Regions from separate parts of the Homo sapiens genome. Here region 1 is linked to region 2. The links are contacts of gene promoters, found by promoter capture Hi-C in blood cells and fetal thymus (Javierre and others, 2016). All regions are on one chromosome and are shown on one strand. Each heading gives the region's core, a stretch centred on a gene start or on the middle of the fragment in contact. The rest is flanking DNA. Distances are from core to core; before and after follow the strand shown. Region 1 overlaps CNGA3 (cyclic nucleotide gated channel subunit alpha 3). Region 2 holds the start of CRACDL (CRACD like).

Region 1 (3,891 bases), core at 1,375-3,874, 540 kb before region 2:
AGGAATGACTCTTGCTTCAGCTCTTGCCATAAAGGAAGTTTCAGTCCCAGAGTATGTTTCTAGGGCAATGGCTTCCCTAGAAAGGATAGGTGCTGATGTGGGGGACGGCACACATTCCAAGAAAGTGACAAAGCCAAGTGCTGTTAAGGGCACAAACCAACAAGAACTCTCATTCATTGCTGGTGGGCATGCAATATTGCAATATGCAATATGGAAGACAATTTGGTAGTTTTTATAAAGTTAGGCATATGCTTTAGCATATGACCCAGCAATCACACCCTAGGTATTTACCTAAAAGAATTTGAAACTTATATGCACATAAAAACATGTATATAAATGTTGGTAGCAGCTTTATTCATTATTAACAAAAATCTGGAAGCAGTAATAATATCATTCAATAAGTGAATGGATAGATAAACAGTCAGGCGAGGTGGCGTGTGCCTATAATCCCAGCTACTAAGGAGGCTGAGAAGGGAAAATCATTTGAGTCCAACAGTTTGAGGACAGCCTAGGCAACATAGCAAGACCCTGTCTCTAAAAAAAAAAAAAAAAACGAAAGAAATAAAGAAAAAAGTAAAACAGTGGTATATTTATACAATCACCTATAATCAAATACTACTCAGGAATGAAAATGAATGAGCAATTGATCAAGGGAAAAAGATTCCATTTGTATGACATTCTGGAAAAGGCAAACAATAATGGTGGAAAACAGCTCAGCGGTTGCCAGGGGTTGTCAGGAGGTGTAGAGGCTGATTGCAAAGGAGATCACGGGGGAATTTTTAGTGTGATGGAACTGTTTTGCATGGTGTTGGGGTGGTGGGTATATGACTGTGCATTGTTCACTCTCACAGAACTGTATACCACAAAGAATAAACTGTAATGTATGAAATTTTAAAATATCAACCCGAATGTGGGCAATATAAGGATGGAAAGCAGATTGTGACAAATGAATCTAGCTATATTAGAAATATATGACATAACTTTACTGAAGGACATAGGGTAAAACAATGACCTAAGTAATGTTAAAAATGGTGCTTTGAGTAGAAACTAAGGCTAAAGATGAAAAGATGTGACATGAATACTGTACTCTAGTTGTAAATTTGTTTCACACGGGGATATGCGTTACTAATTCAGAATTACATTATACTATGGATGAATGCATGAATGAGGGAATAAATAAATAAATGTTTTAAAAAATGGAAGCCAGATTTATCATAGTCAGAAAAAGAAGTTACAAATAAGACCACACAAGATCAGAATGAACCCTGTGGTACTGGATTGAAATCAGACATTAGAATGAACTCACGTTTATTTATATATCCAGGTAGACAGATGCAGAAATGATTGTAGGTGTGTGTGTGTGTGTGTGTGTGTGTGTGTATGTATATATATGTTGGTATACATAGATATATTTCTAACTCTGTGTACCAAGAAGGCTTGGCAGTGATACCTATTACAAAGAGCACACCAAGCACCCAGATCTTGGTTTCCAAATATCTTTCTCCAATAAAAGGAACCAGGGCTGATTCTAGGGCTGAGACGGGGAAAATATACCATGAGCATGGAGTGTCTTGTAGTGCCGGAAAGTACTCAAAAAGCACAATGTTGGGGGGCAAGTGGCGATAGGGCTTTCTACATACACACACACACACACACACACACACACACACACACACACACAATGATGGAAGTAAATTAGAGGGACATAGCAACCAACCTGAAAGAGCTCCCAATGGCCAAAACTGAAGCCATTTGAAAAACAAAATTTTTAAATTTAGTATTAGACTATATCCCAAAGTATAAAAGTCCATGAGTCTATGCCATAAATGAATGATTGAATAAATAAATTAATGAGGGAGAAAGGACACATATTTTTTACAGAAGGATTCCAGATCATATATGTAGATTATTTGATACTTTCCACCCCAGGATGTAAAGCCTTATTGATGGATCTTGCACTCAGAACTGGAGCCAAGGATCCAGCAGCCTCTACACTGCCATGGGGGAACATAATGTCAATATCAACTGGTCATGTGAATGGGATTACAGTAAGGAGGTTGAGGTGGGAAAGTTATCCTGGATTTTCCAAGGGGACCTGATATAATCACAAGGATTCTGATAAGTGGGAGGCAGGAAGATCAGAGAGAGGAAGGCAATGTAACAATTAAAGAATATGTATTATTATTATGGTAGAAACTTCATTAAGATTTTTGAGATTCTGGAAAAATGGTGGTGGTGGCAGTGTAGTTTGTTGGGCTCTCTAAGTCCTCACATAAAACACAGCAAATAAGATAACAAATCTAAAGATCCACAGACAACATCTGACATCCCTGAGGATATGAAAACACCCAAATCACCAACAGGTGCTCACTAAAAAGCATGGAGAGCCTGTCTGAGAACAGCTGGAATTAAGGGAGATTCTGCAGGGATCAATTTGTGGGTGACAGCAAATTGACAATGATGCTGCAAGATTGATGTGCAGGGACACTCTCGGTGCTGCACACTCTGGATGTTCACAGAATAAAGCTTCTTTCTTTATTTGAGAAACATCTATTCAGATCCTTTGCCCATTTTTACATTGGGTTATTTGTTTGCTTGCTATTGAGTTGTTTGAGTTCCTTATATATTTTAGATATTAACCCTCATCAATGTATGGTTTGCAAATATTTTCTCTCATTCTGTAGGTTGTCTCTTCACTCTTGTTTGTTTCCTTGGCTGTGCAGAAGCTTTTTAGTTTAATGTAATCCTATTTGTCTATTTTTGCTTTTGTGGTCTGTGTTTTTGGGTTCACATCTTTAAAAATAATTTCCCAGATCAATGTCATGGAGGATTTACCCTATGTTTTCTTCTAGTATGAAAGAAGCTTCCTTCTAAGACAAAACCCCTCACTGAGAGACAATTTGGAGTAAAATCCAAATTGATCACAGGACAGAAACAGTAGTGACAAAGGAAAGAAAAAGTTTAGATAAAAGAGGGTAGAGAAGCAGAGGAGGTAGCACTACTTCATATATATTTTTATCACTTTGAGAAAACAGCCGAAGAGAGAATTAGAGAACTATGAAGTTAGAAAAAAGTAAATCATGCTCCATCTCTTCTCTCTAAAGTATAAGCACATTCAACTCACTTAGAAGACGAACAACAGAAAAGATGCACCCTCAAATTTCATGCAAAGTCTTTATTAAAAAGACAGCGAGGAAGAATCAGATGGAGTATAACATCTCTGCAGATAATGAAACCCACCAGAAAGACATGCCCACAGAACGGATGTAAACTGACTCATCATTTCAAAACCAGCCAAGAGAAATTAAGAGAATGATAGATGCTATTAAAAAAAAAACAGCATAAACCAGAATCAAGGATGAGGTGATTGAGGAAAAGGAAGATTTGACAAGAGCTGTAACAGAACTCAGAAAAGTACTAGAAATAAAAGAACAAAAAAAATTTTAAAAACTGAATTAAAAGGAACACAAGAGCAAATAAACATAGTAAGCAATGTTTTAAGAGAAATCAAAGATGGAAAGGAAAAATGTCTTAAAAATCAAAAAAGATATTCCGAATATGACATTTGGGAAAGGACAAAATTGTGGCAAAAGTAAAAAAAAAAAATTAGTGTTTGCCAGGGGTTGGGGGAGTAGAAGCATAAACAGGTGGAGTGCAGAGAGTTTCAGGGCACTGAAAATACTCTGTATGATACTGTAGTGGTAAATACATGTTGTTATACCTTTGTGAAAACCCACAGAATGTTCAACACCAAGAGTGGACACCAATGTAAACTATGGACTTCAAGAGAAAAATTGTCAGTGTAGGTTCATCTGTCACAGCAAATGCACCTTTGATACCACTTTCAAAAATATGAAGTATGTTGCAGGTATATGGGAATTTTGCTGTGAA
Region 2 (4,035 bases), core at 216-2,715:
GATAAATGCCTTATTACAATATTTTAAAACATCAAAACAAATACAAAAATCCCTAATGTACAAAATCTCACATTTTTAAATAAAGACAGGATCAGTGTTCCTGATTTTTCCTGTTGCCTCAGACTCCAAGATGGCACAGCATAGGGGCAGAGCCCAGAAACCAGCCCAGCTCAACCTTCTCCACCAGCTCCACACGACACTGTCTCTAGATATCTTTCTCCTCACAATTTTATAACCTCAATAGGTTCTTAGGATGACCACAGTGCTCCATCATTCCAGGTGTGCGCCCGTGGGACCGAGCTCCAGGGAAAATACCAGGGGTCTACACAGATTCTAGTCTATGGTATATGCAAATGAAGGAAGCCTGCAGGCTCCAATAACCTAGTAGGATACCTTAAGACCAGTTTGGGAAGGTGTGAGCTGGCTCTAAAAGGGTAACACAGCTGCCTGTCTTCCACTTGGATTTCCTGGCTCAAAACTGTCAACAGGACCTGATGCCTGCAGGCGGTTTGCACCTACACGGAGTCAAATTCACACAGCCGCACTGCTTCTGACTTGCATTTCAAAAGCAAGTGACTATTATGCTCTGATCACATGTGAACTTCATACCGAATCTTTGCCTATGATGAAGCTTCTGTTCAACAAATATTTGTTGATTAAAAATGTGAACACTTCTTAGATCAACTCCAGAATCCCTCCCGGGTGGCGTGTAATCAAAGCCTAAAACCTGTTAAATAAACCATCACCTAAAGCATAAGGCAGTTCGTGAATGTGTCCACTCCTTTCCCCTGCAACTGCGTGTGGAGACAGTGGGCATAAAGACCTCGTATGCTAGCAATTTCAACCGAGCAGGACCTTCTCTCCCTCCTCTTTCATTTTCCTGGCGCGTAAACTGCTGGATTTGCCTCACAGTGGAAAGTTGGGTCCAGCAAAGTGAGCAAAGGGAAACTTTGGGCACTTGCACGAGCGCGTCCGGCTCCCCCTCGGCCGCAGGAGCTGCCCAGGGCTTCGGCGGCGGGGGTGGCGCCTCTCCGGGTCCGAGGGGCCCCTGGCTTCACGGCCTCTGCCCTCGACCCCCTAGCCCCGGCCCGCCCCACCTCCGCCCGGTGCCCCCGCGCCCACCCCGCCTTCGACCCACGCCTGCCTTGGGACACGCGATTTCAAACCCCTCGAGGTACCTGGGACAGGAGCGTGGCCCGGGCTCGGCGAGACGCGCAGAGAAGGGCACCTTCCGCGGGGTGCGGCGAGCCGGGGCTGCTCCCGCCGCGGTGCGCGTCTAGCCCCAGCCCAAAGCCGGGGCGACGCAGCAGGTGGCCGCGCGGCCTCCAGACAGCCCGGGTCTGCGGCCGAAGAGCTGGACGCGGGCGCTGACACTACCCTCCCGCGGCCGGCCCGGCCCTGCGCCCGGCGCGCTCCCAGCTCCCAGCTCCCAGCTGCAGGCGCGCCGGCTTCGCTCGGCTCCGCTCGGCTCGGCGGGGGCGGACGCCGCTCAGCTCCCCTCGCCGGCCGCCGCGCGCACCTCCCCCGCGGCGCACAGCTCCCAACGCCGCCTCCGCAGCTGGCCCGGCGGAGTGGGGCCGAGACCTCGGGGCGGGGGGCGCAGGCGCCGGCCTGGGCCTTGGACGCCCCGCGGGAGGCGGGAGGGCGATCGGGGTGCGGGGAGGGCAATCGGGGTGCGGGCCCGGCTGCCCAGCGCTCCCTCCCAAGCCCGCGCCGCTCCCGACCCGCCTCGGCCTGTCCGCGCAGCGGCGCTGTCGGGGCTCCGGGAGGGCCGGGGGGCACCGGAGACCCGGAGGTGGTGGCAAGTCAGTCCGGGACTGGCCCAGGGCACCCGCGCGCGTCGGTGAGAGGGACCCGGGACTCCAGGTGACCTCCGGATCCGCCCTCTAAGTCAGTGGCCTGCGGCGGGCGTGGGCGCCGAGGGAAGGAAGTGTGCATTTGAATAAAAGTAAAAGTTTGTTATTGTTGTTGTTTTATAACCCTGTGGGTCCTGAGCGTCTCCAGGCTAATTAGGGAAGCTGCCGCCCCGTCTGGAGGTGATTCATGGGTGTGACACCGGCGAGTGTGGGAAGAAAGGCAGCTGATGCCGTCTCAGCTGCGCTCGCCTTTCTTTATTTTCTTTCTTTCTTCTTTTTTTAAAATCCTTTTTCTTGTAAAGACAGGGCTGGTCCATTTAGGGAGACCGCGCACGGAGGGAGCTGCCTTGGGTGGTCGCCCAGCGAATCTCCTCCGGAGCCCGAGCCGCGGCTTTGGTCTGCGGATGGCACAGCCCGGCGACCCCGTCCCGGCCTCTTCCCCGGCGGTGCACGCCCAGGGCCAGGCAGGCGAGAGGCGCGGGAGTCGCGTCCCAGCAGGGAGCCCAGGCTGCGACGAGTCCTCAGGGGACGCCTTCAACCCAGGCTGGAAGAGATGATACTAACGTCAGACGGGGAGTCTCGGGTGTCACCGGACGCCAGAATGAGCGGCGAGGTCCGCATTGTTTGGAGGGGATCACGCGGAATCCGCGCTACTCCGCGGGACGCTGGGTCCGACGGCTAGCGCCGCGCACACTGGAGGCCTGGAAAAGCCGAGCTGCTCGGCTGTCGGAGGCCGAGAGGGCCTGGACCCCGGAAGGAGCTCTCTCCACCTGTGGCTTTCAAGGGGCTCAAAATCCCAGATAGAAGAATCGAGCGAAACGAGGCCCAAGACAGTTTCCCATTTACTTGGGCATATCAAACGAAGTTTCCTTTTTGAATTTTTAATGTTATCCCTTGGCCACAAGCTATTCACGTAAAAGCCTCTTTTGATGGTTAAGTGCTTTAAGTTCCCTGTATAAAAAGAACAAAAATAGTGATTCAGCCTTATAACCCCCCCCCAAATTAATAACCTGCATTCACAATGAATGGGTGACTCATGACAATCAGAGACAACGAGTTTGTTGGGTGTCTGTGTGTTTGTTTTTTTCAAAATCCTCAAACTAAACTGAACAACTGCAAAAACTATACTCCCCTCTCTCCTCTCCCACCTTGAGCCTCTGCTCCTTGCTCTTCAAAATCATGTTAGTTTTTGCCGCTGTAACTACTAAATATTTATGGACTCCATAAACTGCCTTTCTACCTAAGAATTTCGTTTCCAGAATATCTTAAACCTCTGGCTTTATTTGTATTCTGTGGGTGGCTTTTGAAGTTCCTGGAGGTTTTCAGAAGACAAAAACCGAGGTTCCTGGTGATTAGTTAAGGCCGAGAACATGGTGTCAACACTCAAAATAGAAACTGGTGGGGAATTTTGTGAATAGGTTGGGAAAATGGAAAATTATCTGGAGCCTGGTAGAGCAAGCACCTTCATGCTTTAAAAATGTGGAAAGAAACTGTGCCCCTCCCCTACCCCTGGGACTTTCATCTTCCTGTGAGAGCTCTGGTTCCCAGGGCCCTGCCAAGTGGCTGGCAGTCAAGGAGGCTCTTCCCCTCCTTAATGCCTTTTGGATCAAGCCTTGAAGCCAGGTTAAGAAAAGACTAAAATGTTCAAGTAAGGATTTGTCAAAAGTGCAAAAGAAACATAGACCCCACATAGTGTTTCTTGCAGTCTGCATGGACAACCAGAAAGCCAAGAGCATGGGGTTGGTTGTTTTTTGAGGCTCCAGAAAATCTCTCAGCTACCCCTGAACACATCCCTTTCAGAGAAGGAGAACCTCATTGACAAGCCAAAAGAAAGAAGACCATGCTACTTCTAAATATATTGCACCTCACTGGGAACATGCTTTTATCAAATAACCGGGCACGGATCTAAGCCATTTACAAATAGTCACTCATTTAAATTATCCACCTGCCAGCAGACCCTCTGAGCTAAGACCTGCCATTACCCTGATTTTGCAACCGAGATGCTGCTATTATCTCCATGTGGTAGACGAGGAGACTCAGCATGAGAAGGGCAAGTACCATGCCCAAGGGCATGCAGATAGTAAGTGGCAGAGCCAGGGTTTGAACCCCTAATCTGCACTTAAGGCTGGGCAAAGCTGCCTTTCTGAAAATGATGTCTACCTCTGCAAACTGAAAATAT

The links. The method cuts DNA at HindIII sites, captures the fragments that hold promoters and counts their contacts. A CHiCAGO score of 5 or more calls a contact.
Region 1: a contact is called between a fragment that was not itself captured here and the fragment with the promoter of CRACDL in region 2, in 1 of 17 cell types (total CD8 T cells). The highest score is 5.1, in total CD8 T cells.

What each region holds. Positions count from the first base shown.
Region 1 is chr2:98,398,601-98,402,491 of GRCh38, forward strand. It overlaps CNGA3 (cyclic nucleotide gated channel subunit alpha 3), which reads left to right. Exons shown (of 8, transcript NM_001298.3): 8 at 1. Among named protein-coding and RNA genes, the nearest start is that of INPP4A, 44 kb to the right of the region's middle. The HindIII fragment of the contact is 200 bases long and covers 2,525-2,724 here.
Region 2 is chr2:98,934,760-98,938,794 of GRCh38, forward strand. It overlaps CRACDL (CRACD like), which reads right to left and starts at 1,466. Exons shown (of 10, transcript NM_207362.3): 1 at 1,179-1,466. RefSeq lists a silencer at 633-833. The HindIII fragment of the contact is 4,194 bases long and covers 630-4,035 here.